Linked DNA regions of Homo sapiens: region 1 is linked to region 2. The links are contacts of gene promoters, found by promoter capture Hi-C in blood cells and fetal thymus (Javierre and others, 2016). All regions are on one chromosome and are shown on one strand. The core of a region is centred on a gene start or on the middle of the fragment in contact, and the rest is flanking DNA. Distances in the headings are between cores, read along the strand shown. Region 1 overlaps YTHDF2 (YTH N6-methyladenosine RNA binding protein F2). Region 2 holds the start of TMEM200B (transmembrane protein 200B).

Evidence for each region. Contacts are between HindIII fragments. The CHiCAGO score rates a contact against its expected background, and 5 or more counts as called.
Region 1: a fragment that was not itself captured here is called in contact with the fragment with the promoter of TMEM200B in region 2 in 2 of 17 cell types (activated CD4 T cells and neutrophils); the score reaches 5.6 in activated CD4 T cells.

Annotation. Positions count from the first base shown.
Region 1 is chr1:28,750,177-28,756,409 of GRCh38, reverse strand. All of the region lies in intron 4 of YTHDF2 (YTH N6-methyladenosine RNA binding protein F2), which reads right to left. Among named protein-coding and RNA genes, the nearest start is that of YTHDF2, 16 kb to the right of the region's middle. RefSeq lists an enhancer at 1,400-1,899. The HindIII fragment of the contact is 2,247 bases long and covers 2,199-4,445 here.
Region 2 is chr1:29,121,829-29,128,060 of GRCh38, reverse strand. It overlaps TMEM200B (transmembrane protein 200B), which reads left to right and starts at 4,158. Exons shown (of 2, transcript NM_001003682.4): 1 at 4,158-4,205; 2 at 6,213-6,232. RefSeq lists enhancers at 2,165-3,024, 3,025-3,884, 3,885-4,744. The HindIII fragment of the contact is 10,456 bases long and covers 836-6,232 here.

The sequences.
Region 1 (6,233 bases), core at 2,073-4,572, 370 kb after region 2:
CAGAATGGCTCATACTTGAGTGATTCTTGGTTTAAACTATTCAAGATATACTAAACGATTCTAGCATTGCCAACTAGCCCTTGTCCCACAAATGTTTAAGCATGGAAAAATAGCAGTCCTCCCTGGATCAATCTTTAGCCACATCAAAATCAAAATGCTGCCATTCTTCATATTCAACTCTGTATTTCAGACATTTTTACATAGTCTATTTCACCAAAACAGCCCATACTAGGCAAACAAAAGAGCTTTATAATAGCTCTTTAAGGCTTGGAACAGAGGTTGAAAGATACCGACTCTGCAAACACAAAGATAAAGAAACATGCAGAGTCTTTTGAATGAAGTACGGAGATCAAAACTTTCAAGTCTCTAATAGCAAAGCAACTTTTTATTCAACAGACATCACTGGCATCTGCAGTCATCTGTTACCTCTCTGCAGCCTCTGAGTTAAGTGTACTCTACCATACTGCTTGAAGTTCCATACAGGCTGTGTATCCCCTATCTGAAATTCTTGGGGTAAGAAATGTTTTGGATTTCAGATTTTTTGAATATTTGTAGATACATACTGGTTGAGCAACCCTAATCTGAAAATCCAAAATAGGAAATGCTCCAATGAACATTTTCTTCAGTGTCATGTGTGCACTCAGTTTCAGACTTTGGGGCATTTCAGATTTTCAAATTAGGAATACTCAACCTGAATAGCCCCTTCCTTGTTCTCTTTCTGAAACTCAAACTATTCTCTCTCAATCTCTTTCACTTGCTCCCTCTTTATTCTTCAAATTTTGTTATTTCTGGGGAACTTTTTCCATAGTCCTTTTCTCTCACTCGTGTTGGCTCTAGAACCACGCTGCAGAATTAGAACACCAGCTTTACTTTCGTATCTCATGTGCCTTTGCAAAGTTATTTACTCTTTTCTGTGTTTTAATGTTTTCATCAGTAAAACTGAGCTACTTATACCTACCTCACAAGGATACAAGAATTAAATGAACATACATTTAAATATATATTCAAGACAACTGTATGCTAGACACTGTACAGAGCATTCAATAACTGTTAGCCATTCTTATTACAAGAATCTTTGAAAAGTCAAACTCTTCCATGCCTTTACCTATCCTGAGGGTTGAAAATTCAAATTCCTGTCAACAATCTGAGCTCCAGATTCCCAGCTGCCTACTATCACCTGGCTGCTGCTACTATCACAGGCACCTGAAACTATTTCCAAAAGCCAATACAACCCCAAATCCTAACCCTAAACTGCTGCTCCTCTCATCATCTTTAATTTTTGAAAAACTAGTCAACAAATATGTCTACCACATTCTTCATATCCAGTTTCCCGTTCCCACTGTCCTGGTTCAGGCCCTCATCATCTTTTTTTCCCCAGAATACTGTAAAAGCATCTCGTTTAGTCTCTGAGCCATCTCCCACCCCTTTTTTTTTTTTTTTTTTTTTGAGCTGTCACCCAGGCTGGAATGCAGTGTTGCGATCTCGGCTCACTGTAACCTCTGCCTCCCAGGTTCAAGTGATTCTCATCCCTCAGCTCCCTGAGTAGCTGGGACTATAGGACTATAGGCACACACCACCACTCTTGGCTAATTTTTTTGTTTGTTTGAGACGAAGTTTTGCTCTCATTGCCCAGGCTGGAGTGCAGTGGAGCAATCTCGGCTCACTGCAACTGCCGCCTTCTGGTTTCAAGTGATTCTCCTGCCCCAGCCCCCTGAATACAGGCACCCACCACCACGCCCAGCTAATTTTTTAGTAGAGATGGGGTTTCACCATGTTGCCAGGCTGGTCTTGAACTCCTGACCTTGCGAACTACCCACCTCAGCCTCCCAAAGTGCTGGGATTACAGGCATGAGCCACCGCGCCCGGCCAATTTTTTTTTTGAGACACAGTCTCGCTCTTTCGCCCAGGCTGGAGTGCAGTAGCGCTATCTCAGCTCACTGCAAACTCCGCCTCCAGTGTTCACACCATTCTCCTGCCTCAGCCTCCTGAGTAGCTGGGACTACAGGCGCCCGTCACCACGCCCGGCTAATTTTTTTGTATTTTTAGTAGAGACAGTGTTTCGCCATGTTGGCCAGGCTGGTATCAAACTCATGGCCTCAAATGACCTGCCAACCTTGGCCTCCCAAAGTGCTGGAATTAGAGGCGTGAGCCAACTCACCCAGCCTCATAGATGTTTTGATAAGTTGCTTTCCTAAGCTTCCATTTGTTGATCTATAAATACAGGATACTGCCTCCCAGGTTGGTATGGGGATTAAAGTAAGGCTATGAAAGTACCTAGCATGGTGCTTAACAAGGTCAATGCTCAGTAAGTGTTTCATCCTTCCCATCCTCCAAACTGTTATTCCCTAATTAACTACCCTCCCTTACAACCAAACTAAAACACAGGTAAAGAATAAAATCCTAGGCCGAGCGCAGTGGCTCACACCTGTGATCCCAGCACTTTGGGAGGCCAAGGCAGGCAGATCACCTGAGGTCAGGAGTTTGAGACCAGCCTAGCCAACATGATGAAACCCTGTCACCACTAAAAATACAAAAATTAGCTGGGCGTGGTGACAGGCACCTGTAATCCCAGCTACTCGGGAGGCTGAGGCAGGAGAATCGCTTGAACCTGGGAGGGGGAGGCTGCAGCGAGCCAAGATCGCGCCATTGCACTCCAGCCTGGGGGACAAAGCGAGATTTTTGTCTCAGAAAAAAAAAAAAAAAAAGAATAAAATCCTGAAACTCTTCATATACTTGCCCAACCAATCTCTCCAGCGTTATCACTTACCATTCTAGACCACATTAAACTTCTCATTCTGAAAACATACCATAAGCATTCTCAAGACTATGTTTTTAACATGCTCTTACTAGAATGCCATTTTTTGGAAGACAGGGTCTCACTGTGCCCAGACTGGAGTACAGTGGTACCATCATGACTCACTGCAGACTTGACGTCCCGGGCTCAAGCAATCCTCCTGTCTCAGCCTCCTGAGCAACTAGGACTACAGGTGTGCCTCATCACACCTGGCTGATTTTTTTTTTTTTTTTTTTTTTTTTTTTTTTTTTTTTTTTGGAGAGGCAGGATTTCATTATGTTGCCTAGGCTGGTCTCAAACTCCTGGGTTCAAGTGATTCTCTTGCTGCAGCCTCCCCAAAGTGCGAGGATTACGGGCATGAGCCACTGCACCTAGCCATTTCTCTACTTTTCTATCTGGCAAACTTCATAGATCATGGAGTAGTCCATGAGCTTCGGGGTTAGAGACTCAGTGGCTCTCCAGGTGTAAGTTCCAATATACAAACATGAAACATGTTTTGAGCAACTTCTTTGCTAAACTGGGTAATAGTTTTTCAAATATTAGAATATTTCCTCAAAAAAATTTTTTTTTCTAGGGACAGTCTCCTGCTGTCACCCAGGCTGGGGTGCAGTGGCATGATCACAGCTCATTGCAGCTTTCATTTCCTGGACTCAAGCAATCCTCCTGCCTCAGCCTCCTGAGTAGCTATACTTTAGTTATGCGCCACCAAGTCTGGTTAATTTTTTTTAAATTTTTTGTAGAGACAAGGTCTCGCTATGCTGCCCAGGCTGGTCTCAAACTCCTGAGCTCAGGCAATCCTCCCACCTCAGCCTCCCAAAGTGTTGGGATTACAGGTGTGAGCCACTGTGCAGGACAAATTTTTGTGTTATTGAAAAAAAATGTTTAAGAGCTACAGTCGTGACACACAAATTTAATCTGCAATCAATATTTTCTCCATCACTATGAAGTCTAGACAATCAGCAAAAATTAAACATTGATTTATATACAGCATTTGTCAATTTCCACGATGTAACTAACAGCTGGGCCAGGCATGGTGGCTCACACCTGTAATCCCAGCACTTTGGGAGGCCGAGGCAGGCAGATCACAAGGTCAGGGGTTCGAGACCAGCCTGACCAATATGGTGAAACCTCGCTTCTACTAAAAATACAAAAATTAGCCGGGAGTGGTGGCAAGCACCTGTAGTCCCAGCTACTTGGGAGGCTGAGGCAGCCCTGAACCCGGGAGGTGGAGGACACAGTGAGTTGAGATCATGCCACTGCACTGCACTCCAGCCTGGGCAACAAGTGAGACTCCGTCTCAAAAACAACAACAACAACAAAAACACCACAGCTGATTTCAGATTACCAATGTGTTATCAGTGTGCAACAGCATATTATATATTGATACAACAGCTGTAAATAACCTCAAGAGTAAGGAATTTGAATATTACCTAATACGATGGTAATTATAATGTAATTTAATGTACAGAAAGGTATTCTTGAAAGCTAAACAGCTGGCTCCAACTAGCCAGCTCCAACACATCGCTGGAGAGACTTCTGTTAAAGACCAACTCCAACACTTACTAGCTATGAGACTTTGGATAAATAACCTCTGAGCCTCTTCCTTTATCTGAAATATGAGAATTACAGTGTTAGATAAGATAGCTAAGCTTCTGTGTGTACTATGTGCCAAGCACTGTGCTGCCATTTGAGTGCTTATCATTCTATTATTACTTATTTGGCAGGGTTCCAATGTTATTGCCTCCATGAATTCTTAATTTCCCCCAAGTAATTAATCACTTCTCCAGAATGCCAAAAATGTATTCATTCCTCTATTACAGCTCTTATCCCATATTTTATCCATTTTGCTGTCCTCCTAAAACCCTCTGCTTCTAAGGCAAAGATGGTGCCTTGTTTCTCTGTTCCATCCCAGCAATTAACACAAACGTTTGTTGAAAGATAGATACAAGGGGCATGGTTCAGAGATACAAATTCAATGTTATCTATTCTCTTCTAGTCCTCCTTTAAGGAGGCTGCAGAAAGAGGCGTTTTATCTATTCACAAAGCAAGGAAGGTGATGAGTAATACAAATAAAATTTCCTTAACCCTTTTGGCAGATAAACAAGTATATTTATCTGCAAGACAAAAATAGACATAGATGGCCTTAGGATTTTACAAAAAATGCTCATGTTTGTCATCCTGGTTTAAAACAGGATGCCCACTCACTAGATCTGAAGAGTCAATAAAACAGTGGTGGGGTGGTAAGATACTAAATGGGAGCCAACAGTATCACATGGTTATTTACTTCCTAAGGATTTAATATATTTAGCTCAAGTGAGGATGTTTTCCTCTTTTATATCACAGAAACTTGAATTTTTTTTGAGACAGTCTCGCTCTGTCACCCAGGCTGGAGTGCAGTGGTAAAATCTCTGCTCACTGCAACCTCCACCTCCTGGGTTCAAGAGATTCTCCTGCCTCAGCCTCCTGAGTAGCTGGGATTACTAGCGTGCACCACCACGCCCAGCCTTTTTTTTTTTTTTTTTTTTGAGACAGTCTCGCTCTGTCACAAAGGCTGGAATGCAGTGGCACAATCTCAGCTCACAGCAACCTCCATCTCCCAAGTTCAAGCGATTCTTATACCTCAGCCTCCTAACTAGCTGGTATTACAGGCACGAGCCACCACGCCTGGCTAATTTTTTTATTTGTTGTAGAGACAGGGTTTCACCATGTTGCCCAGGATGGTCTTGAACTCCTAGGCTCAAGTGATGTGCTCATCTCAGCCTCCCAAAATGCTGGAATTACAGGCATGAGTCACCGCATCCAGCCTCTAAATTTCTTTAATAAGCCTTTTCACAGTTTAGGAAACAATTTTTCATTAATATATATATATAGTAAATGTATTTAAAAACTACCCACATACTTAATTTGTATCAAAATTCACTGAGAATGCACCAATCCCTTCTGTCATCCACAGCTTTCTGGCCTCAGTCCGTTCTTACTTATTTTACGTGTAACAAATACTTCGGTCAGAAATTATGAAACAACCTTTCTAAAAAGATCTGTTTCAAAGGACAAATTCATCTTCACAAACCTGAAATGTTATCCTGAGTCAGCTAATCCTCTTTTATCCCTTGGTTTCTCTAGTCCAGACTACCCTATGTATGAACCCCCTCTACAACATCCCTAGTTTAGTTTCTATAACATCTCTTTTAGTTTCTTGAAATTCTGTGACTAAGAACTTCGTTTTTAGCAAGTTTTCCATCTACAAAAATATTTCTCCATATAACCTCTATCCATTCGTTCTAGCTTTGTCTTTTGACATGAAGAATCTAGTCTTAAAAAAATTTGGGCTGGGCATGGTGGCTCATGCCTGTAAACCCAGCACTTTGGGAGGCCAAGCCAGGCGGATCACAAAGTCAAGGGTTCAAGACCAGCCTGCCCAACATGGTGAAACCCTGTC
Region 2 (6,232 bases), core at 2,909-5,408:
ACAGCCATTCCTTCTGCGAGGTGGCTTCTGGAGAGGACACGGAGCCTCAGGTTGGCAGGGGCTTCGGGGTCACTGAATCAGGTTTCCTGTTTCCACAGAGAAGGTTAGGGGAGAAATGTTCATCCCCTGGTCCCCAGGGGACATCTCATCCAGGCCTTCCAAGTTCAGAAGTGGAGTCCAGGTCACACAGATGCCAGGGCAGATTCAGGAAGGGTCCTGGCCTCATGGGAGCAATCAGTGTCCCAATATTGAGGCCACTAGCAGCCCACACATCTGCACATTCACAGGGCCTAACCAAGCAGTCCTGGGGAGGGTCCCTCCAAAGAGAAGTGGGCACTGATCAGCCTGGCTGTGCCTGTGGGCAGGTCGCTTTGCCTCTTCCAAACCACATATGTGAACTGGGCATAGCACTGACCTCCTGGAGCTCTCAAGAGAATTAAACAGGACATCTGGGAAAGGGGGCCCTTCCCTCCTCTGCCACCCCAGTGACCCCAGGGAAGGTTTCTACCCACCCCAAACACTACCCTCTGTACCTGAAACGTCATGATCAGAAGAGGGAGAGGTGTTTGCTGGAACCCACTTTGTGCCAGGCACTCAACATGTGAACCCTTTCTTAAATTTTTTTTTTTTTTTTGAGACCGAGTCTCACTTTGTCACCCAGGCTGGAGTGCAGTGGTGCCATCTCGGCTCACTGCAACCTCCGCCTCCTGGGTTCAAGCCTATATACCTCTTCTCTAAATCCTCTCAGGGTCCATAGAATCCTTTCCTGGACACTAAGTCTCCTTTGAAGAACTCATTTGTTTCCTTATTTGGTCATCTTTCTATTATACAAGCTTTTTTTTTTTTTTTCCTTTTTAGACAGAGTCCGCTCTGTCACCCAGGCTGGAGTGCAGTGGTACCATCTTGGCTAACTGCAACCTCCACCTCCTGGGTTCAAGTGATTCTCCCACCTCAGCCTCCTGAGTAGCTGGAATTACAGGAACCCACCACCGCGCCCAGCTAATTTTTTTTTTTTTTTTTTTTTTTTGAGACACAGTCTCGCTCTGTCGCCCAGGCTGGAGTGCAGTGGCACGATCTCAGCTCACTGCAAGCTCCGCCTCCCAGGTTCACGCCATTCTCCTGCCTCAGCCTCCCGAATAGCTGAGACTACAGGCGCCCACCACTGTACCCGGCTAATTTTTTGTATTTTTTAGTAGAGACGGGGTTTTACCGTGTTAGCCAGGATGGTCTCGATCTCCTGACCTCATGATCCGCCCACCTCAGCCTCCCAAAGTATTGGGATTACAGGTGTGAGCCACCGCACCCGGCTAATTTTTGTATTTTTAGTAGAGATGAGGTTTTACCATTTGGCCAGGCTGGTCTCGAACTCCTGACCTCAAGTCATCCTCCCATCTCGGCCTCCCAAAGTGCTGGGATTACAGGCATGAGCCACCAGGCCCAGCTTCTTTAAAAAAATTTTGAAACAGGATCTCACTCTGTCACCCAGGCTTTGCAATCATGGTTCACTATAGCCTCAAACTCCTGGGGTCAAGAGATCCTCCTGCCTCAGTCGCCCGAGTAGCTGGGACTATAGGCATGCGCCACAGTACCTGGCTAATTTTTAAATTTTTTTGTAGAGACAGGGTCTTGCTATGTTGCCCAGGCTGGTCTTGAACGCCTAGGCTCCAGTGATCCTCCCTCCTCAGCCTCTCAAAGTGCTGGGATTACAAGTGTGAGCCACCGCACCCGGCCACAGGTGAACTGTTATTTAACCTTCAAAACAACACTGTGGGGTAGGTATTATTTCTCCCTTTTTACAAATGAGGAGCCTGAGACAGAGAGGAGTCCTTTCTTTCTCCTGCTGTCTGGGCCAGGGCACCTGGCATGGAGATCAGGAAGGTATTCGGGCTGAAGGAGACACAGGCCTGCACACCCTCCTCTAATGGGGATGGCCAGCTGTGGGCAGACACTGTGCTGGGCACAGGGCTCCAGGGATGAGCAAGACAGACCTAGTCCTGCCCCCTCAGAGTCATGGCCAGTGGGGACACAGACAGGAAACAGACTCCACTCCCAGTGGGTTCAGTTTGCAGGTGCACAGGGAAGCTGCTGGTGTTGTGAGGGTGTACAACAGAGCAGGAGAGCGGGTACTGACCTGGTCTGGGGGCTGGGGGAAGGCCCAGGGTCTGAAGGATGTGTAGAAGGTGGCAAGGGCACGACCAGGGGGTAAGTGTTCCTGCCGGAAAGCAAGGACCAACCAAGCCCTGAGGGAGTGTAAGAGGCCCGGGGCCAGTTCGTGGAGACAAGAAGAGATTTCCAACTCGATTTGGGGAGTCACTGATGGTTTTAAGCAGGTAGTGGCAGGCTCAGATTCAGAGTGGAAACCCTTGCTGCCTGTCTGCAGCGCACTAGGACACGGGGAGGCAGGAGACCATGGGCTCCAGGAGGAGCCTGGACGCCGGAGCAGGACAGTGGCCATGGGAAAGGGAGAACGTGGCTGGCCCCAGATGAAAAGAGCAGGGCCCCCAAGGCTCTGTGAGTGGGATGAGAGGGGGAGAGGAAGGGGCCAAGGCTGACCCCGTGCTTGGGTGGACAAAGGGCCCTTCACAGAGCTGGAGGCAGGGGATGATCGAGGGGCCCAGGGAGTCAGACTAGAAGCCGGGCTTATTGGAGGAAGAGCAGTGGGCTGGGAGAGGCAGGCATGGAGTGGGATTGAGGGAGCCCAGGGGTGGGAGGGAGAGCTGGGAGGCGGAGGTGCGACCGCGGTGGGGTCAGTGTGCGGGGAGTGGACGAAGCGGAGGATTGATGGGGGCGGGGGTCCCAAGCAAAGATGCTGGAGGGAGGCCTCCGTGGAGCGGACCGAGACCTCAGGAGCCTCCAGTCGGACTGGGGAGGCAAGAAGGAGGCCCTGGCTTCGATCTCGCACACGGCCTCGCAGGGATGAAGCCCGGGAGCCGAGGCTCGGTCTTCCCCACTGTGGTCCCTCTGGTCCGCCCGTTACCTCACCGACCCCCCGAGGGGGCTTTTAAGAGCTGGAAGAGGGGGTCCCGGGGGGCACTGATGCACCCCCACTCTCCTCCGCCGACCCAGAGGGTGGGAGCTCAGGTTCAAGGCCTGGCCTGGCCGTGCGGCTCCGGGACCCGGCTCCGCCCCGCGTCGGGGGGTGGCCCCGGCCCCTGGCCCGCCCCTTCCTCGGGTCCCCTCCCTGTCCGCGGCGCGCAGCCGGGTCTCATTAGCGCCCCTCCCCCCGGCTGCGCGCCGGGGGTCTCCACGGCCGGGGGGAGGGGCGGGCCTTAATCAATCCTAGGCCGGAAATTCCTCCCGGGGGGCCCGGCCTGACCGCTGAGCCTGGAAATCGGTCGCCGCCTCCCCCGAACCCGCCCCCCGCATCATGGAAACTGGGCCGACCGCCGGCCGCCCTGGCTCCCCCGCTCTGCATTCCTGCCTCCAGGGGCGGGAGGGCGCGAAGGCCGGGCCGCCCCCTTCGGGCTCGCCGGCGGGGTCGCAGCTCTCAGCACCCTCCCCGTTATTGGGAACAAGCCCGCTCCCCCACTGGCGAAGGGGCGCCTGTTCTTAGGAGTACCCGGCGGCACATCCGCACCCCGTCCGGTCCTTTCAGCTACAAGGCCCGCCCCTCCCCGGGCGCTGCTTTCGCTGAGGGCTTTGCGGAGTCGCCCCGGGCTGGCCCTTGGCGTCTGGCTCTTGCCTCTCGGCATCTTGCGAGGCTGAAGCCTTGGTGCCCATTGCACAGATGAAGTCCGCGAGGTTCAGCGACAGCAAGGGCTGCGGGACCGGGGCAGAGCAGGGACTCGGGCCGCCTCCTCCTGGAAGCTCCCCGGGCGCCTGGGATGAGGGGCTCTGGGAAGCGGGGAAGGACGTGCGGGTGTCGGGGCTCCTGGGTCCCGGGTCTCAGTTTCCCCATGTAGGAAGGGGTCGCCTTTGTGGGCCTTTGCGACCGATGTAAGCTGGGGGTGGGAGAGTGGGGATGGCAGAACTCGGGCCACGGGTGCCCGGAGTCACCAGGCGCGCACAGGGCGCCTACCTGCGATCCTTTGACCTGAGCTGCCGCCTTTCAGCGGCGGTGGGGCCGGGCCCGGCGCGGGTCGGACGGTCCCGGGGGCTGGAGGCGGGGCCGGGGCGGGGCTGGGGCCGGGCCGTGGAGACCCGGGCGGCTCTGGAGCCTCCGCGCGCGGACTGGGACCCGGACCCGCGCGGCGCTGCGGCGCCAGGTGAGCCGAGCTGGGGTCCAGGGGTCCGCACTCCACTTTTCCCAACTTTTCGTTTGGTCCCTCCCTCCCTCCCTCCCTCCCTCGGTCAGGGCCCCTGGGGGCGGGAGCGCGGCCCTCCCGTTCCCCCAGGCGGGAGTGTGGACGCGGGCGGTGGCGGGACCCTGGAGTCCTGGGGACTCGGCCCCAGCATCTTCTGTCGGGCTGTGCGCTGTGTCCCCAAGTTTCCGCCTCCCTGGTGTCCCCAGCGTCGGCCCACTACCTCCACGGCTCGGGGTCTCTGAGCGTGTCCCCATGTCCCCACTCTGCTTGTTTTCGCTTCCCTCGCGGCAGCGACGCGCGGGGCTCCGGGTGACCTTGCTGGAGCCGGGGCTGAGAGCGCCAGTTCTGGCTTGAAGCGATGATCGCTCCTCCGGTTGCGGGCTGGGGAAAGGGCTGCAAACTCAGGGACAAGGAGGGGATGGGCCTCGCTTCCTCCTGGATACTCCCGTGGCTGTCCTGAGAGGGGTCTAGGGCTGGGGCCCCGGAGCCCGGCGTCGGACCTGGCAGAGCCCCCGCCTAGTGCGGGGTCGGGCAGTCTCCCCGGCCTCCCTGGGCCGTAGTTGCAATCTGTGAAACCAGGCTTTGGACGCGGGAGAGTGGCGGCTCCCTGCTAGGCCCGGGCCTTGAGCGCTCCAGTCGGAGGCAGGGATGGGTGTCCTGCTTTGAGGTTTGGGGTGCAGATGGGGCGTGGGTCGGGGAGCAAGGCCGCCTCCCCGAGGTTTCGGCTGCGGGCTCCAGCGCGGTGGTTCTTTAGGAAGCGGACGCGAGCAGTGAGGACGACCCTGGACAGCTAGGCCCTGAGCCTCCTCTCCTGCGGCCTGGGGCGCCTGGGCGGGGGCCGCGTCTTCTCCCTCGCCCTCCCTTTCGTGGGGGCCACACCGCACGCAGCTCGGCTACTCCTGCTGGGCCCGGGATCCAGGCCACAGGCCGCAGGCAGGGCGCGGCCAGCAATCGGGAGGGCTTAAGCTGTGCGGCCCGGATCCCGAGGCGCAGGGGCGGTGCTGCTCTGACCGGGCCACGGGCCACGGAGGCCTCGGGCGGAGGAGGCGGGAAAGGAGGCCAGGCGGCGGGAAAGGGGGATGATTCATCCGGAGGAGCCCGAATTGGAAACGTCGCAACCTGGGAACAGCCTTGCCCGGGCCGACGGGGGAGCCGGGAGGGCATCCGTCCGGCGGGGCCCAGCGCCCGGCACCGGCACCCCCGCCTGCTGCCGTGGCCCCAGCACGACCGCTGGGGGAGGGAGAGGCCTCTCATGCGTGGACTTGATGGAAATCTTGGGCGAAGTCGGCGCCGCCTCTCCTCCTCTGCCTGGCTGGTCTTGATCCGAGCGGTCTTCCCGGTGTCTAGCTCAAGTCGCTCCTGCTGCAGCTTCGCTGCGGGCGGAGGAGGTCTGGAAGGAGGGGGCGGGCAGGGAGAGGCTGGAGCCGGTGACGCCCCCTCCTCCCGCGCTGCGGTATGTAAAGCACAGTAGGGGGGAGGTGGGGCCCGGCGAGCGACCCCTGCGGACCTGGGAGGCCCGAGCGCCCCCGCCCCATTTGCTACGGTGCAGCCACGTGCGGGGGTGGGGTCGAGCCCGGGAGGTACTTACCCTGGAGACGCGGCAGCTGGGGGCCGCACGTTTCCCGAGGCCCAAGACCCGCGGGCTTGCGGACCGGACGCAGGCGGCAGATTTGCAGCCCGGGATGCGCCAGGGAACAGCCTGCGCCCCCCTCCCTCCTCTCCGCCCGCTGGCCGGGCCAACTCCGGCTTCTGCCGCGCGTGCCTGGCTCGGAGCTCCGCTGCGGAAAACCCGAGCGCGGGCGGCTCCCCGCCTCGCCGCCCGGGAAAATCCGGGGGTGGCCGCCAGGGATCTCCAAGCGGCCTGGGCTGGGCGGCCGGAGCTTCCCTCCCGGATTTGCGCCCCGAACCTGGCGCCCTGAAGCTAGAGGCCCGTCGGTCCAGTCCTTGCCTCCCATCTTCTCTCCGCAGAGCGCCCAGACGACGGCGAG